Regions from separate parts of the Homo sapiens genome. Here all the other regions are linked to region 1. Evidence: promoter capture Hi-C in 16 types of primary human blood cells and fetal thymus (Javierre and others, 2016). All regions are on one chromosome and are shown on one strand. The core of a region is centred on a gene start or on the middle of the fragment in contact, and the rest is flanking DNA. Distances in the headings are between cores, read along the strand shown.

Region 1 (3,685 bases), core at 514-3,013:
GTGGCTTCCAGCTGCATCCATGTTGCTACAAAGGACATGATTTCCTTCTTTTTTATTGCTGCATAGTATTCCATGGTGTATATGTACCAGTCTTCCATTGACGGACACCTAGGCTGAGTCAATGTCTTTGCTATTGTGAATAATGCTGTGAAGCACATAAAAATGAATGTCTTTTTGGTAAAACGATTTCTTTTCATTTAGATATGTACCAGTAATGGGATTGCTGCTGGGTCGAATGGTAGTTTTGTTTTATTTGAGAAATCTCCAAACTACTTTCCCCAGTGGCTGAATTAATTTACATTCCCACCAGCAATGCCAGCAATGTATATGTGTTCCCTTTTCTCCACAGCCTTGCCAGCATCTGTTGTTTTTTTGACTTTTTAATAATAGTCATTCTGAGTGGTGTGAGATCTCATCGTGGTTTTGATTTGCATTTCTCTGATAATCAGCAATGCTGAGCATCTTTTCACATTTGTTGGCTGCTTGCATGTCTTCTTTTGAGAAGTGTCTGTTCATGTCTTTTGCCCACTTTTTAACAGGGTTGTTTGTGTTTGTGTTTTGCTTGCATAGCTGCTTTCCATGTTCTTTTCTATGTTATCTAGAACTATAATAAAAGTAACTGCCCAGCTCTTTGGGAGGCTGGGGCAGGCGAATCACTTGAGGTCAGGAGTTCAAGGGTAGCCTGGCCAATATGGTGAAACCCTGTCTCTATTAAAAATACAAAAATTAGCCGAGTGTGGTGGCACACACCTGGATTCCCAGCTACTCAGGAGGCTGAGGCAGGAGAATTACTTGAACCCCCAAGGCGGAGGTTGCAGTGAGCCCAGATCGCACCACTGTACTCCAGCCTGGGAGACAGAGTGAGACAGCGTCTCAAAAAAACAAAAAAAAAGGAACTAGGTCTAAGACAGGGTACCCAATCTATTTCTAAGAAGATGCTACTTCTCATTTTCTGGAAACACTGTAGCAAAGAGGAAGGGACAATAATGTCCCATAGTGGGTGGGCAGATATAAAAACCCCAAGATGTTCATTTCAGGCCCAAAGTGACTACTGCTTGCTACCCTCACCTTTCTCTGCTGGAACACTACCAGCCCCTGTGAGATGTGGGTGATCTCATGGGTGTTTGGAAGAATCCCAGTACCAGGCTAGGGGATCATCAAAGCTGACTGGATCAGTCCTGCTAGATCAGGAAGCCTTACTGAGTAAGGCTAATGCCAGGTCTCCAAACTGCCACTGAGCATCAGGGGTCCTTCCCACAATATCTTTGTTTCTCTAGGTCAAGAAATGATGCCGTCCCTAGAAACAGCGCAATGTTTATGTAAGAGTCAACTCAGAGACCTTGTGCCGGTACAAGAGGTACTATCTCATCCTGCTCCCCTGCAGGCACTAAATGAGACAAAATTCCTTCTGGAGTTCAAGTCCAGAAGGCTGACTATGCTGTTAATGGCAGTATACTGAGTTAAGAGAATTCGGGGAGACGGGAATATTGGGTCCACGATTCTGCCTGGAGGGAAGAATTGTGGTCTCCTCAGTCCTGTGGAGTAGGGGTCCGGGCTGATGATAGCGCCTCCTGGTGCAGAGTATACAAACAGCTGAAGATCTGCCTGGACCCCCTACCCCTCTCTTTTTTCCTTGTGGAAACTGTGTATAATTTGGAAAGAGCAAGGACATCCTGGCTCGCAGCTGGCCAGCTCCACCTGCGACCTGGACAGCCTCGCCCCTCCCTGCGGAGCCAGGCGAGTTCACAGGGCTGCCTCCGCTTCTTGCAGCATGTCTGCTCTCCTGGCCTGGCCTCTCCAGACCTTTCCCTCCACGGGCAGCGATTTCCAAGGCTCTCAAGACTCCAAACCACGTCGTTTTGGGAGTGAAAAAGTGAAAGCACACATCGTGTCATTAGAGCAGCAGGGACCAGCTGCTGGGTCAACACTTCCGAAAACAGCGCTTCCTGGGGAGCGACCGGAGCATCTCAGAATCTACGGTTTGACCTCCTGCCAATTCTCATGGTGTCTTTATACATTTTAACACAAAAATAAGATGTTTTCACTTGAGAGCGAGAGGGAAATGAACTGTTAAGGTGCTCTGTCGCCAGAGAAGTGAAGTTGGGGGGTAAATTTTAGGAACCCCCGACCCCCCTACCGAGGGAGGATGCGAAGTCGGCTCCTGAAACGCGAGCGAAACCCCCGCGCGCTTCCCGGGGTGACGCACATGTCTGTGTTTCTTTTTGCTTTTGACCAAAAGTCGTAGGGAGGGTCCTCCTCAGGGGACAGTCGCGGGCGCTGTGCCAGTCCTTCCTGTCCCCCCACCAAAGTCAACCCCAGCCCCAGGCCAAGGCCGCCCCGGCCGGAAGAGCCAGCTGGTGGGGGCCGTGGGGGGCGCGGCGGGCGCGCGGGGCTGGGGGCGGCGGGTCCGCCTACCCCGCCTTCCTGGCGTGGAGAGTTTCGGCCCCAGCCTCGCTGGCGTGGACTCTGCCTGAACCACGCCTGGGATGCTTTTGCCAAAGGAAACTTGGGGGGTGGGGGCGGGGCGGGCGACGATTCCCCCCCTCCCCACCCCGCCCCTGTCCTCCTCGGCCGGGAGCCGCGCTGGGCCGGGGTCAGCTGGCTGCCTTTGTGGCCGCTTCCCAGGAAGGAAGAAGCGTTGTCTGCAGATCAGTTGATCCGCGGGCTTTCCTGTGTCGGAATGCCGCCGTTTTCCGGGGACGGCTGCCACCCCCGTGATTCCCAGCCGGGGCTGCCGGCCGTGCGTAAGAGCCGGATAAATAGGCCATTGTGAGGCCGTTCAGATCTAGGTTTCTTATCACAGTATCCACCAGCGAGAAGCAGATTCGGCCCCTGATGGAGCTCATCCCAGCTTCTCTTTTCTTTCTCTGCACAGTTACAGCCATTTCTATTTTTTGCAGTTGTAAAGGGAATATTCAGAAAGCAATTTATTGTGTGCGACAGGGACTTAAGGGAGCGTGTCTGCAGACCGTGTTCCCACCGGGGTTGGGGTTCGCAACCTTGAGTTTAGCTCGATGGGCTTTGGTGTGTGAGGTTTCTACCCGCCCATCGCCCAAGGCAGGCACGTCCTTAAACACCAGCTGCAAGTATCAGGAGGGCAAGTCCGTAGGTCTCTAGATCCAGTGGGTTGGCTTTTTGGTGTTTGTTTTGTTTTGTGATAGCCTTGATCTGCTTTGTGGACACTGAAAATTTGAAGGTCGAGGGAACACGAGTTAAAACAGGTCAAATGAGGGAGGTTCTGAGGAAGGCTGGTGGTTTGGGAAGAGCTGATGCTGATGGTGTTGAGTGTCTGTTTTGTTTTTGTTTTTCTGCTGCAGCAGCCGCAGGGCTGTGGAGGGGTTGGGGTTTCCTGGTGTTTGACTTATTGGATAGTCATTGCTTGGCATGGCTGGGTTTTTGGGCCTGTGACCTGTGCTCAGAAGCCGACGTGTGCTTAGTTGGATGCTCTACTGACACCATGTTGACATGCTTAATAATTTTTGAAAAGGACCCTGCATTTTCAGTTTGAACTGCACCCGGCAAATTATGTAGCCAGGGCTGTTAGTAGACTCTCAAATTCATTTGAATAAGCTTGAATAACGGTTTGAATCAGTTCCCATTTGAGATAAGGGCCTGTGGTTAGTCGATAAGCTGCTGAAGGTGATTCTCTTAGTTTTCAGAGTATCTACTGTGGCTGTGCTGACGG
Region 2 (3,685 bases), core at 695-3,194, 410 kb before region 1:
GAGGTTCAGAAAGTCAAAATGGGGGTCACGTAGCAGGTAAGTGGCAGAACCAGATTTAACCCAGGTTGTATCTCAGGTCCTGTAGTCACTGCATCCGTCGTTACCTACTTTAAGAGGCCCGTCCTTTCCTTTTTAATCACAGCTCAACCTGGCATTTATGCTTATAGTATAATTTAAAACGGCCAAACCACGTCATGACATAGAAAGACAGCAATTTGTATAAGTTTCCATTAGTCAGTTTTCCCTCACTGTAGTTATTTCATGCATTGTTTTATAACAAATGACTTACATCAGCTCATAAATGCAATCATTGGCATTTCTATGAGCACAATACCCCAACATTTTTCTGGATTCTGACATGAAGACTGTCACCCATTTTATAAAATTATTAATATCATTTAAATAGAATTAAGGAGCAATAGAATTGGTTCTATTACTTCATCTGGAAAAAAAACTTTTCTCCAACTTAATATTTTTAAGTGACAGAAATGTACCCTTTTGCAAAAAATACCCAAAACCTATTTAAAAGACTTACATTTAAAATCAAATTATACTTTGGGAGGCCGAGGCAGGTGGTTCACCTGAGGTCAGGAATTCGAGACCAGCCTGGCCAACATGGTGAAACCTTGTCTCTACTAAAAATACAAGAATTAGACAGGCATGGTGGTGTCCACCTGTAATCCCAGCTACTCGGGAGGCTGAGGCAGGAGCATCCTTTGAACCTGGGAGGCAGAGCCTTTAGTGAGCTGAGATTGTGCCACTGCACTTCAACGTGGACAACAGAGTGAGACTGTCTCAAAAAAAAAAAAAAAAAAAAAAACAAAAAAAACAACAAATCAAATTATACAGAAACTTGAAACCAATGTAGAGAAACAAAATGGCTTCTGAACTCAGCAACATTAACCATTTTGCATGGAGATCGGTTACATGGGGGAGGGACATGAGGAAGAATTAAGCAAGTAAGTCAATATGTTGGGAATAATCAGTCATGATTCTCACTGCCTGAGAAGAAAGTTACAAATTTGGAAAAAGGGAAAGCTTGAATGAACCCTGTTGGTGTTGGATTGCAGTTGGAAGGTTGGTGTGAGCTCATGGTTTTTATGTATGTAGGTAGGTATATGTATGCGTACTTTGCAAGTGTGCACCGAACTGTGCATATTCATAAATACATTCTAGCTCTACCAAGACAGCCAAGGAGTGGTGACATCCAGTAGAATTGAGCCTATCTAGCACCCAGATGTTGGTTTTAAACATACCATTCTCTATCAAAGGAATCAGGGCTCTTTGGGAAAATGGCTGATTCCAGGGCCAAAGGAGACATTGCGTAAGATGGGGCTGAAAGTATGGAAGTGTTCAAAGAATAATGGTGGCTTGCCAAGGATAGAGAAGCTAGCTCTCAGACATTCCCACTGGGCAAATCCGCAACAAGTTGAGCAAATATATGATGATACATGATAAATAAATGGGAGAAGGGAAAGCTCTTCTTTGCAGCAAAATGTTGCAAAGAAAAAGTGAAGGAACTACATCACCATTTGGCAACCATCAGAGTAATATATTCAGGCAAAAAAGCTAAGAGCAGAGTTAAAACTGGGCAAGAAACATCATATTTATGTAGTCTCTAATATCACCCCCAAAGAATACTTCCAATTATAAAGGTGGATTTTAATTATAAAAGGAAAGACTAACTATACAGTGTTACTATCAGTTATCACCAGTGATGGGGCAAACGACCTCTATGCCTCCTGACATGACACACCGAGAGGAGCACAGCATCACCTCTGTGATGTTCCTGCCAAAAGTGCATACTCTGAATCTAATCAAGAAGCAGCACCAGACAAACTCAATTTGAAGAGCTTCTATAAAACAATAATCTGAAATCTTTAAAAAATTAAGGCCATTAAGGTCAAGGAAGAACTAAGGAATGGCCCTGGATTCAATGAGACTGAAGAAACATGACAACTGAGAGCAACATGTGATCCTGGTTTGGATCCTCTTGCTATAAAGGACATAAATGGGCAGCTGGTGAAACCTGACTGGGGTCTTTGGGTGAAGGGTATACAGAAGTTCTCTGTGGTATTCTTGCAACTTTTATATAAGTATGAAATTATTTCAAAATAAATAAAAGTAACAACATTTGTTCAAAAACTTTTATTTACTATAAAGACAAAAACACCAAAATAGGTACAAATACTATAAAATCGGTTCAATGGGGTAAAAATTTTAATTAAAATATCTCAATATATTTAAAATAACAAAGGATACATTTAAGCCAAATTTTCTTAACCCAGAGATTTTTTTTTTTTTTTTTTGTAACATTTGCTTACACAGTAAGGTGCTAATAGAAGTTAGCCCTTAAGCCCTGGAAATCTTAGGAATCATAGTCACACAGCAAATATAATTTCATTGTGAAAGTGAACTTTGGTAGAAGAAAAATCTATAGGACACCTGAGGTAGTAGAAACTGGAATAAACAGTAGTAGACGTTATTTACAACTTGAGTACCAAATAACATTAAGAACACAAAAATAATTACACGATACAATTTCCAGTCCAGCTTTGATCCAAAGAAAATAAGAATATTACATCACATTTGCATTGAAAACAAAACAAAAAACAAAACACCACAATTACCAGCAAGCTGAGGGAACTGCAAACAAACTCAAACACAATGGATTTTGAAATCTACAGATAGTTTGAGTTTGAAATGTGGTGGGCATGGTGATCTACAAAGTAATACTGATTAGCTGAGGTTCCTCAGTTTATACAGTTTACATTTTTGTCAGACACAGTATTCATCTGACCAATGATCTTCCAGTACATAAAATGGCAAGAGTGCATCCTTTAAAGCTTGCACATGAGAGACTTGGAAACAATCTTATTAGAATTGTGAAAATTCTAAGTAGTCAAAAAAAAAAAAAAACAAAATAAAAAAGAAAGTCAAGTACAACACATTTAGAGATACCAAACTTCACATTTCTGTACTATTTTTAACTCTTCAAATATCGCCAATCTTCCAAAACAAAGGAATGTAAAATTTCACTAAGAAACATATTCACATAAAAAACAAACTGCCTTTTAAAAATTGTAAGCAATATATCCCTGTAAACTTATCTTGTAACTTATTTTATTTCCAATTTGTGTTGTACATTTTAAATGTACTCTATATATAGCTTATTTAGTTTATCCTGAGTCTTTGAGAATAACCAATTCTATTTCACACTGGCTTCTGAAGAGTTAAAACTAAAATCTCAAAGTTGTACTTAATAGTTAATCAGTACTTGATTTAAAAGACTCACACACACACAAAAAGATTAAAAAGCTACCATTTTCCTTCAGGATTCCATGCATCTGAATTTAACTCCAGACTAAAACCGTTAGGTAACTGTGCAAAATCCAAGGAATTAGTGTATAAATGAAATTCAATTCCATTTTTCTTTCTGAACACATTTTCCAAGTTCAAAGCAAATGTACTGTTTAAAAACATTACTGATTGGTAGTTGAATAATCTTTTTAAAAAATGATCTGCCAGGCCTACTGTAAAGAGATGATGCATGGTAAAAGGAAAATGGCAGCTCTATGTTACTACCAGTAGTGAAGGTGAATGATGGATTGTTACATACAGAGTAAGACTTAAATGTTGTGAAGTTTCCTACAGTTTGACAACCAAAACATCTAAAAAATTCAAA
Region 3 (3,685 bases), core at 529-3,028, 390 kb before region 1:
GACTGTAATGGTCACAAAAGAAAAATGTAACAAATCCTAATGATATATAAGCTCAATGTGTTAATGCACCTGTTCACAAATTTAATTCAACAGAATTTAACAGATTATTGAAAATAATTATTTTACTTTATTATTGTCTACTGGAGACCCGTCTGGTTTTAGATCCTACATTTAAAAAATAATAGACTGAGCATTCAACAACCAAGAAAATCATTACAAACCAACTGACAAAAAAGCCCTACTTACTGAGGATGAAAAAACATTCAATCAGAAGAGATGGTAAAGGGATGGGAAACTGTTCTTACAAATAAAAATGATGAACTCAAGGTAACCATCACATATTTTTTTCTTATTCATCTCCTCTGCAATTATTAAGCACCCATTGTATGCCATTAGGATATGAAAAGAGAAATTAATTTTAAATGGCAGCAAATAAGAAACATGATAAAAATTCTTGGCAGGCACGGGGATTAAACATTGGGAAAAGTTAGCATTGAAGGGTTCTGGTTTCTATCCTTCTATCCTTGAATAACCCCGTATGTCCGTTAGTTCAGGAAGAGATGTTTCTAGATATGTGAAGTGAAACCACAAGAAGTTTTGAAGTTGAAGCTGTACAATAAGCAGTATAGTATTAATACCAAAAGTAACATTAAAATTTCCAGTGGAATGAAGGTCATGATGGAGGCAAGTAAAAGTGTTTTTTTAAATTATGAACAACTGAGGGAAGGAGACAAATACATTAATTGATCTATAAATATTTCTTTGAGAAATGAAAAACAAAGAACTACTTACCTGAATCCATGGCTCAGCTAAATCTTTGTAAGCAGGAGGGATTTGCTGAGTTCCATAATGAGTAAGGTTAAAATTGCTCTCTTGATTCCTTCGTGATCCAGCCAAAGGCTGCTGCTGTACGGTTTGCTGCTGTGCAGCTCTGAGGGAAGAAGGGGAATCCACAGGACTTGACAACTCGTGGCTAAAATGAAAAATAACAAAACTTGCTTTAAAAAAATTAAGACAAACCACACTGAGAAATTTTTAAAAATTAAACATATCCGTATCATTTCAAAATTATTACCTGTAGAAATCATGAGATCTCCACTTAGATCTACAAAGGGGACATATTAAAGGTTCTCTATTTCTTCTACACTCTTCTGCCCCTGAAAAATTACAGAAACAAAATCTTACAAAAATGTAAATGTTTAACATTATTTTTATTTCATAACTGTTTATAATTATAGAATTTATATAGAAGGAACCTCAAAAATAATCTAATTAAATGTTTATCTGAAAGCAAGTAAACACAGCAGGTTAAATGATTTTGATTTGCAAATGCTATTTTATTCATTCTGATAACATGTACTCTGCTTACTATTTTTCAAAACATTCTGCCCTGTTTGACTACCAGGTAAAGTCCTTCCAAACCTTACTTTGATGCTAGCCTTTCTGTAATGCCTGCCCAGGTCTTCTTCCACCTCCTTCCCTTCATGTATACCTTCCAGATTGAAATTGTTTCTAATTCTGTGCACTTCTTCCATTATCACATATGTCACACACACTTTATTGCATTTCTTTGCTCACACAGGTCATCTCCTAAAGATCCTACATTCCCATTTGTTGAAAACTTTTCACATAGGACTTAGGACTTAGATATACTTTTTTTATTCTCTCACCAATTTCCCCTCAAGCCATGTTACACTCTTAAATAACATAGTTAGCTCAGAGAGCAACTGTGTTGAGTAAGCATAGGGAGAAAAAGAGCCACATACAAATTGACATGCAGTGGTGGTGCAGCTTGTTCCTGCAGCCGTCTTCACACACTGTAAGACTTTCTTCATCAAGCATGCCCAACAAGCAAATAGGACACATCTGTTCCTCTTCATCCTTTATGCTATAGAAAAGGGGAAGAAAAAGTATTAAGCATAAAAGAATATAAAGTAGAACGGATATGCTAAAAACACTTTCTGCTTGCTTAGAATATAAATACATTAGAAATTCTTAAGAGCATCTTATATAACTAAGAGATACATATTTACACTATTAATATACAGTAATTTAAAATCAGATTAACACACGAGTATTTATAGATTGTAGGTGTGAGTTAACCTTCTTTGCTATGAAAACAATTCAATACACAGACTGCAATCTTAGAAAGAAACATTTGTATCCCCCAAATTCTGCTACTGTACCTTTTGAATAGACCAACAGGTTTGACTATGTATAAAAATACACTACATGGTACCAGTTTCAAGATTTTAAGTACTGGCGGACCTTAGAGCTCAAAGATTCCACATCCTAAATTTAAATGCCTATTTCAGAAATTTCTGGTGGCAGTATGAACTGATCCAACTTTCCCAGAAATGAATCTAGGAACACATCACATTTTAAGTGTACACAATCTTTCACCTAGACTTCTAGGAATGTATCGTAAGAAAATAAAAAGATAAATATATAGAGATATATGTATGAAAATGTCCACTGCAATATTATTTAGAATAACGAAAAGAAATCAAAACAACCAAATGAATGCCAAAAAGAGGCTAAACAAATTATGGCAAACCCAGACACCTTGAAGCCTTTAAAAAGGAACAGAGAAATCCATAAATGAGGTCAAAATAAAACTACCATGTATAGGATGATTCCATTTATGGCAAAATCGCAACATAATGGTTAATTATATTGCATATACTTGAGTATTTCTAACATACAAAGTACTTTTAAAAATCAGTTAGAAAAATACTAATAAATAGTACAATGGACAAAGGAAATAAAAAGGCAATTGGAATAAAAAATAATAGATTGGTAACATCTGGCCCTGATAATGGCACAGAAAACCAGGTTCTCATATAGACTGCTGGTAGGAGTAAAAACTAAAATCTCTGGAAGGAAATTTTGTTAGTATTTCTTAAAATACTACATGGTATATATTCATGACCTAAAAATCCTATTTTCTAGGATGTTATCGCTACATATTTTAAGTATGTAAACCAAAAAGTGGAGATGTACTTAATGTACATTAATTAAGGCAATGGCTAAATAAATTATGGTGTACCAACATAATCTTATACAGCCATGAAAAGAAAAAAGTATGTAATTTGGTGATGATGTGGAAAAATATTCTTGATATATAAAGTAAAAGTAAAAGAAAACTGCACACCAGAACATATGGCATGACTTTGTATTTGTTTAAAAACAGTAAGAAAGTTGAGAGAAACATGGATGGGGGAACGTGCGTGCATGTGTTTGCTGAAGTACGAAGTGTGCAAAGAAGAGTTTCATTCCTTGATTTATGTAATTTTTAAAAGTTGTATGAAATAGTTAACAGTAGTTATTTTGTGTGCAGCCAGGCTAAAGAGGGCTTTAGTTTTCTATTTCATAAATGTTTTTATTTAAACCTTCATGATGTGAGGGATGGCTTTTAAAATCAATAGCCGTATTTTCATTATAATATAAAGACAAGGCTCTGGGATGTTAAATAAGTTGCCTCAAATCATAAAATCAGTTTGTGGCAGATCTATCATTACACTTTTATCTGAGAAGAATATGCCATAAACTTACAACATCTATAAATTTCAGAGTCTGCTAAGCTAGGCCCAATATTGCACTTCTACTATCTTAAACTATTAGGTTGGTGCAAAAGTAATTGCGGTTTTTGCCATTACTTCTAATTTTTTTAATTCTAATTTTG
Region 4 (3,685 bases), core at 316-2,815, 370 kb before region 1:
TACTCTATAAAGAATAAAAATTATCCAGTACAAACATTTGATCTTTACTCCATAAAATGGTGTGGATTTACCAGAATAAAACAATCTCTAAACTAAGAACGTTTGAGAATTAACTCTACAAAGCCTAACAGGCAAAGCATCAAGCTCACGAAAATCACTAATTTTAAAATATACCCATATCCACATGAGCATACATGCATACACGATATGCATAGATTTGAAAACCTGATTTATAAGGATGCAGTTAAAGCAACTGCACCTTGGGATTAGTAACAACTTTAAAAATACTAAGCTAATTTCAGTAACTATTTTGAAAAGTCTTTAAAGCTAGAGAACAGTTTTTCTACACTGATAGGAAAAGGAAATACTCAAGGAAATACCAAAAACAAGAACCTCAAGTTTACTACAAAGACAAATTCAAACTCCTCTAGGAATTTTCCAGCTAATCACAACTATGAAGTACGATCTTCAGAGAATCAGCCAAAGGAAGAAGAAACTACTTAAAAAAAAATATTCACTAGAAAGGAAACGGTTAACCCGTTTCACTGAAGCATCAAGACTGTGAGGAAAGTAGAAGGCAACATATTAAACATCTTTGTATCAGCAACTGGCCTAGACATTTTTAGAAATACAAAGAATACATAACATTTGGTTTGAAACTTGCAAATAGGCATTAAGACCACAGCGTAAAATATTTCCTTACACACACATACACACACAAATACTGTTATATAGAAGCAATATGAGACTTTCAAAAAGTATGAAAAAAGGAGGATTATCTAATTTACTTATATGTGCTTGGCTGCTTTTTATGCTGATTATAAAATATAAATATTAGGGGATGTGTAGAAGAAAGTAAGAGAGGGAGGGAGGAGAAAGAAGGAAAGAGGAAGGGGGGATGGAGAGAAGGGAAGAAGGCAGAGAAGAAAGGAGGAGGAGAAAAAGGAGGAGGGAGAGGAAGGCAGAGAAAGAGAGGTAGGGGTGAAGAACACAGGGGATAAAGTGTCTTCCAAAAAAGTCCATCCTGCTCAGTTGGTATTCCAGGAGGCTCAGCTTTGTAGGCAACTGAATTTATGTGGTGACTGCATAATAAAAATTCACTTCCAAGTCTTTAGTATTAAAAGCGCTTTCCCCCTCCAGTAACAATGTTGCAAGAGGTGGTTTGGTTCCCAGGCTAGTTCCAAAAAATAAGCCTCACAGTGGAACTGCAGTGCATTTTTATACCAGAAACTCCTGCACTCCTAGACCAAGGTGCTTGATAGTCTTTCCTCTGGTCCTAGCTATCTCTCTTCCCCCAAATCTGTTTCAGGAGTATCTCTTCTCTGCTATGGATTTTCAGTTTCTGTTCCTGGCCCTGAGTCAAACACACAAAGGATGTTCCTTGTCTAAACAAATCTTTCTGGATGGCATGGCCTCCTTAAAGTCTAATGTGTCTCTTTCCTTTCCACTTGTTTGAAAATACTGTCATCTTTTAGACCAATTTCTTTTATCATAAATAATAGGGATGAGCATTCTAGTAGCTGAACTTTTACACACATCTGAGATTCTTTTTTAAATTTCGTTTTACCTTATTTATGTTTAAGGACTATGAGATTATTTTTTTCTTTTTTCTTTCTTTTTTTTTTTTTTTTTTGAGATGGAGTTTAGCTCTTGTTGCCCAGACTGGAGTGCAATGGTGCAATAGGCTCACTGGCAACCTCCGCCTCCCAGGTTCAAGTGATTCTCCTGCCTCAGCCTTCCAAGTAGCTAGTATTACAGGCATGTGCCACCACGCCTGGCTAATTTTGTGTTTTTAGTAGAGATGAGGTTTCACCATGTTGGTCAGGCTGGTCTCGAACTCCTGACCTCAGGTGATCCACCCACCTCGGCCTCCCAAAGTGCTGGGATTACACCACATTTGGCCTAAATTATTTCTTTAGAATAAACACCTAGAAATGGAAATGCTGGGTTAAAAATGTACACAAATGAAGACTTTTGATAATATTGTCAAATAATCTTCTAAAAAATATGTCTTCCATTCACACGCCCATCCAGGTCAAGCTGCTCTTAAACCTGCTCTGAACTAGCAACAGGCTCCTAACGAGGCTTCTTTAACTTTGAATCTTACCCAGATTTCACAGTGCAGCCAGGGTTACTTCCTCCATTAAAATGCTCTAGTGGTTCCCCCCGGGCTTAGACTAAAATCCAAAATGTTTAGCCCAACCTAAGTGGCCCTGCACCTCGTGGTCTCACCTCAATTCCTGTCATCAGACCTGCAACCCCCCTTCTTCACTGCCTCAATAACCCCAAGATCTTTCCTACTCAGGGCTTCTGGACAGGCTGCTTCCTTCTCTGTCTACTTTTTACCTAATTTCTACCCACTCTCTAGATTTTCCTCAACTCCTCAGAGACTTTCCCAATTTCAATTAAGAACTCCCAGTTCCATTCTTTCACAGCACTTGTATTTTTCCTTTAACATGGTTAATGCAGTTTGCAAACTGTTCCTCTCTTATGAACTGTAAGCTCCATGAGTGAGGGGACCACGTGTTATCGCCATCTATACACCTAACATCTAAGCATGTCTGGCTCATAATAAGTATGAACATATATTAAGTGAATGATCACTTATTAACTCTGGCAGTCCTACAGCCTTCCCAGTTTTAAATTTTAATGACTATTCTTATTAACTTTTTTTATAATTCTGTATTTAATTAAGACTAAATTTGCAATTTAGATGTTGTTCAGAACAATTTTCACTGTTCCTAAATTAATCTGCAAATATAAACCAAAGTGTTTTTCCTAGTCTCTTTGTAATAATTACATGTCATTAATTTTAAAATGTGTATTTTTTCACATTTTAATATCTGAAATATGAATGCCTCTTGCAATCAAAAGTTATTATAATTTAACTGGCAGGTGTTATTTCCTTCATAGTATATAAAATAATGGTACAACTTACAACCACTGGGATCTTTGAATCAATGAAATATATAGTAAATCCTATTGTATTTGCCACGAATAAATCACATCTACTCTGTTTAATTTCTCTCTGAAACAGAACCAAACTGTGAAAAATTTTTTTACATACTTGTATTGTTTTTGTTATAATCCTAACATATAATCTTCCATAAGCCAGGCATATATAGGGTTTTCATTTTTACTAGATGAGTGTGTGTGTGTATGTATGTATGTATATAGCAGTGATTTATCATCCAATTAAGATATCACAGCCATAGCAGGAAAAAAATCTTTTTTTAACCAAAGCTAATCTAAACAGATAGCTGTGAAGTCACTGGGAGATGAGAGCCATCTCCAACTCATGTTGGTTAAACGTGAATGTTTCGGGGAGTTATTTTTGCCAAACATTACCCAGAAACATACCTATTTTAAATAATAGTGTATACACTTTTGACCTTAAAAAAATAACAGATTTCAGCTAAACAATGTGTTTTGAGAAACTACCTTGAAGACTTAAAAATAAATAAAATTGTGGTCAGAAAAATAAGAGAAACTTAAGCACTATTACAGATCAAGCTTTATCTTCATTTCCTGTTTATTTAGGAAACATGAGGTTTCTTGGTTTTGGTTTCTAGACATTCCTAAGAATGAATTTGTGACCTGACACAGAACTTCAAGAACGCTTACTCCCTGAGGTTAGGTTTCTAGTGCTAGACTCTTCCTAGACCTACAAAACTCACCTGTTAAA
Region 5 (3,685 bases), core at 875-3,374, 350 kb before region 1:
GTCTCCTAACCTGCAGTGGTCTCAGGCTCCTCCATAGGATCCTCTTCAGCTCTTTTCCAGGAAATACTGGCATTCTTCAGGGAGGAAGCTGAGCTAGTATTTCCCTGCTACCCTTTCTAAGGTATGGATGTGATCCTGGGCCTGCCCATCAAGGAATTAAGATTGCCAACAGAACTATCATTCACTTCTCAACCCTTAGCATCTGTGCCAGATTCTAAGCCATCCAAGGTTCAACGGAGCAAAGGTTCCATTGGAGAGAAACACTGGAGGCCATGAAACTTCAAGCCTGCAGGTGGAATTACCACTAATAAGTAATTAACTTGTATAAAATAAGATACTTAATTTTATATCTTATTACTTGTTAAGACTTATTATAATAATATCTAAAATTAAGTATCTTATTTTATACAAGTTATTCTCTTAAAAGCTGTATATAAGTAAAATATACACAACAAAATCATTTTCAGGAGCCTGACACCATCACCCTTATTCTGGCTGGGGTGTCAACTCACATTTTAATTTAAAAGGCTTTCTTAAAGCACAACAATATTTCTCTCATCTTTTTTCTTTCTTTGTTTTGAGATGGAGTCTTGCTCTGTTGCCCAGGCTGGAGTGCAGTGGCATCATCTCAGCTCACTGCAACATCCGCCTCTCGGGTTCAAGTGATTATCCTGCCTCAGCTTCCCGAGTAGCTGGGATTACAGGCACCTGCCACCATGCCCAGCTAATTTTTTGTACAGTACAGACGGGGTTTTACCATGTTGGCCAGGCTGGTCTCGAACTCCTGACCTCATGATCCACCCAAAAGCAAATTAACAGGCAGTATTCAACAAGCTGTCCTCATATCCAGGCATACACATAGAATCCTGTCACATCCAGGTAGAACCTACAACTACTCTTCAGTTTCCTCCAAGAGTTTCTTATGAAATTAGCTACAAGTAATCAATAACTAGCTAGAGAACACAAGAATTAAACTCTCTTTTTATCTCCCCTGGCTCCAGCATTTACCTAGGGCTCACTCAGTTCCTAGCACAGTACATACACATAGGAAAGTATGTCAATAAACAAGTGCTGAGCTAAAGTGACAGTGTTTAAGTTTCCAACCATAAGCAGTTCACATAAAAGACTTATGGGCCAGCAAACTACTACTGAAGAAAAAATAATGGCATGTCAGAGACACAGTTAAGGATAAAGATATTTATCTTGCCTTGAAGGAGATTTCAGTTTTACCTGAGTGACCTTTCTATAAACTAAAAGATAATCTCCTTTGTTGGGAAGGCATAGGGGTCAGGAAGATTACTGAATTCTCTCAGTCACTAAGCTCTTATAATTATCAAAGAAGGTGCCTGCTGAACACAAAATAAAGGCCCCACATGTGACAGGCAGGCATTCGTTAACTTATTTCACTAGTAAAGAACAACCACCAGTAACAGAATAAATGAACAGAAGTCCATCTAGGCATAACTTAATACTAGATGCTGGCCTTAGATATCATCTTTACTCAAATTAAAGGGCATTACCAACCAAGAATAATTAATTCTTTTAATTAAAACACATTAATTAAAAGAATGCTGAAGTGTGAAATAAGCCTAAATTTAAAATAACTGGAAATGAAAACCAGCTTTCCCCGCCCCCGCCAAGGCTCATTTGTAAACAGCTTTAACAAGTGTGTCTTGTTGTAAAGACACACGTTTCAGAATGCCTAAGGTACTGCAGGAAGCTCCCTGGGAGCATGCAGAGAGATACTCAGGTGTGAGCTGAGGCACTGTGGGGGAGGGAGTGTGTGCATAGACAGCAGGAGGTCATGAGTGTTCACTCTCCCCTTACTACTGTGCAAGGCTGCGTAGGCACCAAATGAGAAGCATGTCAGACAGTCTGGGCAGGCACTCTGTGAAGTACTCCAAAAGTGTTAACAATTACTGCTTTTAATGTATGTGCACACCAAGCATATCTCCAATTTTGCTGGCAAAAAAATGTATGTATTAACAAAGTTCAACCATATTTTTCCCTGAAGCCGCGTCTCTTCCCTGGCCTTGTAAAAACACTGAAATTTAAATGTATTTGTGTTTATAACTTGCTTTATTTTAGAAGAACTTCATATAAAAACAAAAAAATCATGGCAGAGCATGGTGGCTCACGCCTGTAATCCCAGCACTTTGGGAGGCTGAGGCAGGCGGATCACAAGGTCAGGAGATCAAGACCATCCTAGCCAACATGGTGAAACCCCATCTCTACTAAAAACACAAAAATTATCTGGGTGCGGTGATGCATGCCTGTAATCCCAGCTACTAGGGAGGCTGAGGCAGGAGAATCACTTGAACCCAGGAGGTGGAGGTTTCAGTGAGCTGAGATAGCCCCACTGCACTCCAGCCTGGTGACAGAGCGAGACTCCGTCTCAAAACAAAAACAAAACAAAACAAAAACTTAAAATGCTTCACTAATGTTTTCTGTATTTTTGGAAGACCTAAATAGATAATTTAATTTAAAAAGTCATCACTACATATGATTTTGACTTCATAATACACTATGTGAAGAATGAATAAAAGCTAAGACAAAGAAATGAATAATTTTTCCAAGATAATAAAATTTGTGCTCTGATTAAACAAACTTACCTCTTGATTTAAAAAAAATATGCAAAGATAATCATAAAGGTTAAGAACGCAGGCTTGAAGTCAAACTGCTAAGGTTCAGTTTCAGGCTTTGCCACCCACTAGCTGTGCTACCACCTTGCCAGGATACCTCACCTCTCACAGTCTCTGATTTCTCATATGTAAAATGGGAATCAAAATTCACAAGGATGATGTAAGACTTAAATGAGACAATTTATATAAGGCATCCAGTGTACCAAGCACAGAGGAAGTTAACTATTATTGCCATTTCAGATAAGTACAGTAGGAGAGTGACAGTGAACTAGGATGATTGAGGCTGGATCCCAGACCCAGCACTGTACTGAAGTAGGAAATCTCTCAACAATGGCTGAACCCCCTTTGCTTGCCACTTTTACTGCTTAGAGTCAGGAGGTTGTCCTTCCGAATTCTAAAATGCTATGACCATAAATCCTAGTATTTTATTTTTACCCTTCTGAAAGGGTAGGTTTTTATATTCATCATCTCATTTGCTCTTCCCAAATTCTCTAAGTATGAAGGGTATCATTATTTCTAATTCATAGATGAGGTCAAACTCAAAAGAGGTTAAATAAAGTAACTTTACTCAAAATCCTGCCAAAGTGTTAGGACAGTAATGGGGAACGGTCTCACAAGCCTGAGCCAGTGCTAACACTTCATCTACCACAATAAGCAGTCAGACAGCAGGTTAAATATCTTTCCACTAAAGACACCTGGCAATTCCCTCTCCAACAGCTAAAAGGGGAAAGAGGAAATCAAATATGCCCACAAGGAATGTCTAGACTCTTGAATTTCAACTGCAATTCAATTAGGTTTTTTACTTTAACAGACACAGTAAACTGTTTAGTATCAGAGTAATTTAGGTTTTCAAAGTATTATCTATAAAAATCTCACTTTCACATAAAGTAGGTCTCCTTAACTCTTGTGAGGTCAAAAAAGAATTCTCATGGAATTCATTTAATTTTTGCATTAGTCCTACATAAGCAATCATAAGTACCTTGAAATACATGAGAATACTCAAAAGGATTAATGTTTAATGTTCTAAAAGAAAAAGGAAATGA
Region 6 (3,685 bases), core at 739-3,238, 320 kb before region 1:
TAAGATCTCTGACACTTTTTATTAATTGATTTTTTTTTTTTTGAGATGGAGTCTCACTCTGTCACCCAAGCTGGAATGCAGTGGTGGGATCTTGCAAGGCTCACTGCAATCTCTGCTTCCTGGGTTCAAGCTGTTCTCATGCCTCAGCCCCCCAAGTAGCTGGGATTACAAGCATGCGCCACCACACCCAGAGATGGGGTTTCACCATGTTGGCCAAACTGGTCTTGAACTCTTGATCTCAAGTGATCTGCTGCCTCGGCCTCCCAAAGTGCTGGGATTACAGAAATGAGCCACTGTGCCTGGCCTATTTATTGGTCTTGATTTTGTGTTAGCAACTCTCAGTTTTGTCTTGTGTATTTTAGATACTCATGCTGACCTCATATTTTATGTCACCTTTGAACTAGGATCCCAGTATTCCAGTAATAAATTGCAGTTTGGGACCCTTCAGAAAGCTCTCTCTGGAGCTCACCATAATAATGTTTCCTACAAAGATATCATGTCTCTGGATATTTTTCTTTAAAAAATCGTTCTTTGTGATGCCTTTATGGTGAAATTATAACATTTCTTATTTCAGTAGTAAATGTGGTCTTATAAGATACCACAAGTGAGGATGTTGTGGGAAAGCCAAATGATCAATTTCTGAAGAAAGGACAACATGGCTTAGCAGGAAAAGCACCAAAGAGTCAGGAGTTCCAGGCCAGGGCTACCCTTGTCTGTGTCACAGGTGGCAAGTCTCTCCATTACTTCTCTTCACTGGGTCTTAGTGTCTCCATTTTTCTAAGCCGGAATACTCAACTTGGTGATATTTAACATCTAGTCCGTCTCTAACAGTTTATGAAAGTCCGTCACATATAGACAAAGGCCCAAATTCAAATAATACCCATCATTTCCTGGTCCTGTCTTAACATTTCAAGAGCTATAAGGTAGTAGGAAAAGACTTCTGGTATGTTGTTTCCTTGGCACCATATTTGTCGTGTGAAAATCAGAAAGTAATACCTTCATCTGGGTTGGGGGAAGAGGCAACAAAGTATTGGTTTTTATCTTAGGAGAAACTACTGATTTTTTATTGTGGTTTACTTGTGATTTTTAAAAGTGTTTTCTCTTTCACTTACTAATAATCACACATGCAGATGAAAATGGTGACATTTATTTCCTGCCAGACTGAAAACACTTTAAAAAGTGGATAATGTCTGGTATTTGCTAAGGACAAAAGAAACAGTCACCATTGGTAGGAGTTTAATCTGTGTCCCTTGAAAGCAGATCCTGAGATGAGGAAACAGGAGTGAGGGAGGTGAAAACCAGGCCTGGGGGGCCTTATCCAGTTGATTTCCACCGTCATGGACGGTTGGGGCTCAGTCCCTCTGGGCCCATCTGGGGAGCTGTGTGGAAGGTGCCTCACATTATACACTGGAGAAATGGGAGAGGGTAGGGTAACATTTACCCTTCAGCTCCTGTCTTCAGTGGACAAGCTCTGGGCCAGGAGGTGTTACCCTTCCACGTTTCAAGCTTTGTGCCTGTGCAGAAGGCAATCGGCTTACCACTGGCACCTTCACCTGGGGCAGAAGTGAGCCATAACAGGGTGGGGCTAGAGAGAGATGCTGTGGGGCCACAGTGAGCTGCCGCCAGAGCAGAAGTAAAAGGTAGACCAAGAAGATGTGAGGTGCTAAGCTCAAAAAACAAACTGAAAACAACACATGAGATGAGAGAATCTTGGTTTTTGGTTTTAATTTAGTACTGCTCTGCACATCCTAAGACGATACTCATCATTGACTTCCATCTCAAATTACAAAGAAAAATAATTTCTAAGATGAAAAACTAAAAGTATCATTGCAGCAAAAGCTCTAAAACACAGGAAATCTCTGCAGAAAGCCTCCCCCTTCACAAATATTTATTGGCAATTGTGGGATCCATCTGTTGCTTCAGATGATTTAGTGGGCAGAGAATCTGCTGTGCCAACTGTAATAGAACATGGTAATCTGTGGAAGCTGAGACAGAAGCTCTTCACTCTGTTTCGTGGGCTACAGAGCAAGCCATATCCTATCCCAGTCTGAGAGAGGCAAAATAAACTAAGAATGATTTTTCTTTGAGGAGTGCTTCAAATGCTGGTAAAATCACAAGGCTATCTTCTTTATTTCTAAATAGATTAGTATAAAATCCATGAGTATTGTTGTTAGCTCATTAGTATATGTGAAAACATTGGGATGCCAACTCGTTTAAAGGGAAGAAACCATTGGGTTAGGCAAAGTAAGACCATGGAAATACAATTTTTCATGTTATTTTAAATCAATTTTGATATCTCAGAGGTTCCCTAAATTTTGTCTTAATGATTCACCTCCTCCATTAGAAGTAGGATATTGGCAAAATGAGTACAACCTAATTCCAGGAAGATTTAGGTTTTTAAAATTTGTTCAAATATTAACATGTTCAGGGGTGATATTCTATAGAAATGTTATTGGAAATAAAAAGCTTCTGAAATATAAGAACAATCCTAAGCTGATTTGTAAATGGCTATCTTTTTCTAAAAGCAGTTCTTTATCTTCCTGAAACAGCTAACTATATACCAGTACTTAGATTCTGAATTAATGGCTGAGGAGACCTAGGACATTTGCATTTTTCTATTCTCCAACTGCTTTGCAGGCTTGTTGGCTGGGACCAGTGCCCCTCCCTGCAGTTTCAGGCCCAGGCCCAGCTATTCCTATTCATGTGTCAGATGCTAATCATCATCTGGTCTGGCAGAAGGAAGGGGCAGCTCCCAAACTGCCTGGCCCATCGCATACTGGAGCTGTCAGTCTCCTGAGAGGCTGAGCATCTGTTTAGAGTAGCCCCTGCTAACTCAGCTGATTTTTGACCTCTTCGCTTGTATTTCTTCCTTATTCCTTGGATGCTGTTTTCATCTTATTTGAAGGGAAGTATCTCAGCACTTGTCATCCTTCTCATATTAATTTAATCAAGGATGATAATATGAGCTTAGGTAACTGTCAAGAGGCCATTCTTAATAAGAGGATGGCATAAAATTACAATGGGTTGGGTTCTCTCTGAAAGTCTGCAGTTGCCCTTATATACATAGGGAAGTTATTAACATTATTGGATTCACTGCCTTCCTTGACAATGTACACCAAAAAGTCTGGGCTGCTCTGTGAGCTTATTCATATCGCAAAGATTTTAATTCTTTTTATTGCCATTGCAATATTTAATATTCCTTTTATTCTTACTTGCTTCTTCTGTACTTTGCCCAAAATGAGTTGATTATTTTTGAAGGGAGGAGGACTACTCAATAATCCAGAAAACAAAATAAACGTATCAAATTTATTGATGGAAAGACTAAAATTAGAGATGAATTCCTTCCCGAGAATGAGTAATCTAGAATTCAATTCAACTAGCATTTGCTGAGAACTCTTGTGTGTCAGGCATTTTGCATACTGTCACTCCATTTAATTCTCCCACAACTCTTCTTCAAGGTAGACATAATTCTTCTCATTTTACAGACTTGAAAATAGAACCTTAGATTTTAAAAATATTTTCCCAAATCACTTAGCTGGCAAATTGGTAGGATAGGCTTCTAATTCTAAATTCAGTATTTTGTCACTACACACTGCTGCTTCCAGGAATAAATATATCCTTTGTACTATAATCAGGCACTGCTTAATCAGTCAATAAATATTTATCAAGTGCCTATCAGGTACCA
Region 7 (3,685 bases), core at 620-3,119, 300 kb before region 1:
AGGGACTCTAGCTCAGTTCCTAGAAGTAGAATTGCTAGTTTGTAGGGAATGAAAATTTATTTGACTAGATATTGCCAAGTTTTACAATTGACATTGGGGATGCTCATTTCTGTACACACTCCTCCATCAGACTTTAATTTTTCTGCCAGTCGTTGAAGTATCAAATAGTGTTTCATGTTGTTTTCATTTGCATTTCCCTGATTGCCGATGAGAAACAATCTTTTCACATACCATTCTTATGTGAACTATCTGTTCTTACTCTTTGCCTGTTTTTAAAAAATAGTTGTCTTCATGTTGATTTGTAGGATTTTAAGAAATTTATGCTAGGGATACTAGATTTTGAGAACTTTACATTGCATGTGTGTTCTCTTAGTATGTGATTTGTCTTTTAATTTTTTGTATGATGTCTCTTGTTGCCTAAACACTTAATTTTAGTGCAGTCAAATGTTTTATGTTTATTATTTATATTTATATATCTTTTTTTGTTGTTGTTTTTTGAGACAGAGTCTTGCTTTGTCACTCAGGCTGTAGTGCAGTGGTACAATCTCAGCTCACTGCAACTTTTGCTTCCCAGGTTCAAACGATTCTGGTGCCTCAGCCTCCCGAGTAGCTGGGATTACAGGCGCCCGCCATCACGCCTGGCTAATTTTTGTATTTTTAGTAGAGATGGGGTTCCGCCATGTTGGCCACGCTGGTCTCCAACCCCTGACCGCAAATGATCTGCCCGCCTTGGCCTCCCAAAGTGCTGGGATTACAGGCGTGAGCCACTGCGCCTGGCCCTATTTATACTTATATTTTTAATCAGCATAGATTTAAACGTGTAATATTGTGAGGTAAGCCCTAATTTATTGTTCCTGATTTAATACGGCCTAATTTACTGTTCCATATGGATTGCTAGTTAGAATAGTATACCCCTTCCTCCACTGATTGAGAGTTATCGTTACTGTGCTCTATAGAGACTGCAGTGGTTCTAACATTGTAACATATATCAGAATCACCTGAGGACTTGTTAAAAATGTAGATTTCTTGCCTCCACCCCAAGTTTTTGATTCAGTAGGTCTTGGGCTTGGGTGTGGTCTGAAAATTTGTTTCTCCAATAAATTCCCAGGGATGCTGATGCTGCTTGTCCTAGGACCACACTTTCAGAACCAGAGGAACCAACATGTTTTGTTAATATCTCTTGACATCAATGCCTTGAGGAAACTTAAATTTAAGCCTATTTTATAGATGAGGAACCTGGTGAGGCAATCAATTAGGTGATTTTCCAAGGTTTGTACTAACAAGTTAGAATTGGAGACTGCTGGCCGGGCACGGTGGTGCACACCTGTAATCCCAGAACTTTGGGAGGCTGAGGAGGGCAAATCACCAGGTCAGGAGTTCAAGACGAGCCTGAACAACATGGTGAAATCCCGTCTCTACTAAAAATACAAAAATTAGCCAGGCGTGGTTGCACACACTTGTAGTCCCAGCTATTCAGGAGGCTGAGGCAGGAGAATCACTTGAAACTGGGAGGCAGAGGTTGCAGTGAGCTGAGATGCACCACTGCACTTCAGCCTGGGCGACAAAGACAGACTCTGTCTCAAAATAAATAAATAAATAAATAAATAAATAAATAAATAAATAATTGAAGACTGCCGTAATTTCTTTACTTGGTTTTGTTTCCTACAACATGTAACTAGTATTAAATCATAACAAGATTTAAATTTTTTAAGAAAACACCAGTTTTTTCTTTACTTGAAAATTATATCTTTACGTATTTGGTTCTATCTCTTAAAAATAACTATTTCAAATGACGGTTGTCTGGCCTTAGGTAACATGACAAATAGAATGCATAAAATGAATACAAAGGTCGAATGTAAACATTATTGGAAAACAAATTGAAGTACTATGTTCATTAAATAGAAAAGGATAATAAACGGAAGTCTTATGGTCTATCTAAAGTCAAATAACTCAATCATAAAAGGATTAGTCATAGACTATGTGCTAAGTAAATCTTTATTTAACAACTACTTATCTTATTAAATCTCTTTGTTTTAGTCAGATACGTGGTAAGTGCGATATCATCATGGGCTCTTTCCCTAGGTCTTGCTACTCAGGAGGTGGCTTGAGGACTAGCTGTGTAGACATCACCTGTGAGCTCATCAAACTGCAGAATCTCGGGCCCCACCCCAGACCTCCTGAATCAGAATCTGCTTTTTAACATCCGCAGTTGGTTCAAATGCACATTAAAGTCTGAAAGTTCTGAGATTCTGCATTTCTAAGATGCTCTTAGGTGATGTCGATGCTGTGTTGAGGGTCCTCTTAACTACACTTAATGTGGCAGAACTCTGCCCTCCTCTCTACTCATTAAAACAAACAATATCTTTAAAGAATACTAACTTTGCTAAGTAGTTTAATAGTGAATCCCTTCAGTAAAGATTTATGGACACTACAGTGGATATTATCCCGAAGAGAGAAAAATAAAGACAAGACAGGCACAGCTCTCAGAGTGAAATAACAAGTTTGGTAGTCAGTGTTATAGAACAATGGTAATTGTATCTGATTGCTAAAAGAAAGTCCCAAAGAACAACACTAATCAGCTGAAATATAGTTATAACAAAGGAAGTCCAGAATTTGACTTCTATAGAACTGTTTTCCATTTGACAGAATATAAAGCAATGGAAAACAGATAAAATTATACATTATTTAGATGAAACCTATCACATTACATTGAGTACATCATTAGACTTGTAAAAGCAATTCTGCAGTTACTGTTTTGATTCAGAGGCTTTTGTATCTTAAGCTACACTAAGTACAGAAGCAATTGGTATGAAATATATACACTTTTTTTTTTTTTGAGACAAGGTTTTGCTCTATTGCCCAGGCTGGAGTGCTAGAGTGCAGTGGCATGATCTCTGCTCACTGCAGCCTCCACCTCCTGGGCTTAAGCAAGATACACATTTTAATAGAATGTGTATTTGAATCAAAGTGCCTTGAAGTTTTTCCAGCTTCAAATATAGGAGGAAACTTTTCAAGGTTTAGTTCCCATATCTCAGCGCTGATTTGTGCCACTCAAAATGAATAAAACATAGACTCTTGGTTTGAGTATAAACGTCCAACAGTCTTACAGTCTGGGTAGTTTGTGTTGTGACAAAGCATATTACTAATGCAACTGTTACCACATACAGTGGATTAAGACTGGATTAAAACCTGGATTCCACTTCAGAAAAGGCAAGTCTATTATCCATTCATTCATTCACTCATCTTTTTCTTCCCCTGGAGGTATCCAGGCTACATTTGTAATGAACTAGGTTTCCTGTTGATGCCAGAGCATAAGGCAGATTCTCTTTTTGTTTTGTTCTTTTTATGAGATAAAACACAAATTCCTGACAAGACGTATTATTTCCATAAACAACATTCCTTTCTTTTTCACCTTTTTTGGTTTCTGCAGGGTTTGAAATGCTCATGAGTGGGATAGTATTTCCTCCCTGAAAAGGCTTGGATAACATCAAGAGATAATTTTTTTTCTATATGTTGGTTAGCAAGAGAGAATTAGCTCATTAAGAAGAAAGTCTGTGAATATTTTTATTGTTAGGTGAGATTTTCATCCCTATTTCAAGGACATTCAAATTCCAATGGCTATCTAGTAAGTTGGGATAAATCCATCTATCCATCCATCCATTTTTAAAAATTGTTTTTTCTTTCA

The links. The method cuts DNA at HindIII sites, captures the fragments that hold promoters and counts their contacts. A CHiCAGO score of 5 or more calls a contact.
Region 2: a contact is called between a fragment that was not itself captured here and the fragment with the promoter of LINC01948 in region 1, in 3 of 17 cell types (naive B cells, total B cells and neutrophils). The highest score is 7.9, in naive B cells.
Region 3: a fragment that was not itself captured here is called in contact with the fragment with the promoter of LINC01948 in region 1 in 3 of 17 cell types (naive B cells, neutrophils and total B cells); the score reaches 12.3 in naive B cells.
Region 4: a fragment that was not itself captured here is called in contact with the fragment with the promoter of LINC01948 in region 1 in 15 of 17 cell types (total B cells, naive B cells, neutrophils and 12 more); the score reaches 24.9 in total B cells.
Region 5: a fragment that was not itself captured here is called in contact with the fragment with the promoter of LINC01948 in region 1 in 17 of 17 cell types (total B cells, naive B cells, neutrophils and 14 more); the score reaches 33.7 in total B cells.
Region 6: a fragment that was not itself captured here is called in contact with the fragment with the promoter of LINC01948 in region 1 in 13 of 17 cell types (naive B cells, neutrophils, total B cells and 10 more); the score reaches 17.7 in naive B cells.
Region 7: a fragment that was not itself captured here is called in contact with the fragment with the promoter of LINC01948 in region 1 in 1 of 17 cell types (naive B cells); the score reaches 6.1 in naive B cells.

What each region holds. Positions count from the first base shown.
Region 1 is chr5:56,479,847-56,483,531 of GRCh38, reverse strand. LINC01948 (long intergenic non-protein coding RNA 1948) reads left to right here and starts at 1,763. Exons shown (of 5, transcript NR_104664.1): 1 at 1,763-1,979. RefSeq lists enhancers at 1,835-1,994, 3,195-3,364. The HindIII fragment of the contact is 6,332 bases long and covers 1-3,572 here.
Region 2 is chr5:56,894,601-56,898,285 of GRCh38, reverse strand. MAP3K1 (mitogen-activated protein kinase kinase kinase 1) reads right to left here. Exons shown (of 20, transcript NM_005921.2): 20 at 2,134-3,685. It overlaps LOC105378980 (a long non-coding RNA gene), which reads left to right. Exons shown (of 3, transcript XR_948347.4): 2 at 1-36; 3 at 1,706-1,849. Among named protein-coding and RNA genes, the nearest start is that of SETD9, 13 kb to the left of the region's middle. The HindIII fragment of the contact is 1,808 bases long and covers 1,041-2,848 here.
Region 3 is chr5:56,870,113-56,873,797 of GRCh38, reverse strand. It overlaps MAP3K1 (mitogen-activated protein kinase kinase kinase 1), which reads right to left. Exons shown (of 20, transcript NM_005921.2): 7 at 1,767-1,888; 8 at 1,076-1,157; 9 at 793-973. Among named protein-coding and RNA genes, the nearest start is that of SETD9, 38 kb to the left of the region's middle. The HindIII fragment of the contact is 4,014 bases long and covers 1-3,685 here.
Region 4 is chr5:56,852,381-56,856,065 of GRCh38, reverse strand. The region is part of intron 1 of MAP3K1 (mitogen-activated protein kinase kinase kinase 1); the gene reads right to left. Among named protein-coding and RNA genes, the nearest start is that of MAP3K1, 39 kb to the right of the region's middle. The HindIII fragment of the contact is 3,900 bases long and covers 1-3,515 here.
Region 5 is chr5:56,831,603-56,835,287 of GRCh38, reverse strand. The region is part of intron 1 of MAP3K1 (mitogen-activated protein kinase kinase kinase 1); the gene reads right to left. Among named protein-coding and RNA genes, the nearest start is that of MAP3K1, 18 kb to the right of the region's middle. The HindIII fragment of the contact is 8,698 bases long and covers 1-3,685 here.
Region 6 is chr5:56,801,455-56,805,139 of GRCh38, reverse strand. No RefSeq gene overlaps it. Among named protein-coding and RNA genes, the nearest start is that of MAP3K1, 12 kb to the left of the region's middle. The HindIII fragment of the contact is 960 bases long and covers 1,509-2,468 here.
Region 7 is chr5:56,782,949-56,786,633 of GRCh38, reverse strand. No RefSeq gene overlaps it. Among named protein-coding and RNA genes, the nearest start is that of MAP3K1, 31 kb to the left of the region's middle. The HindIII fragment of the contact is 5,570 bases long and covers 1-3,685 here.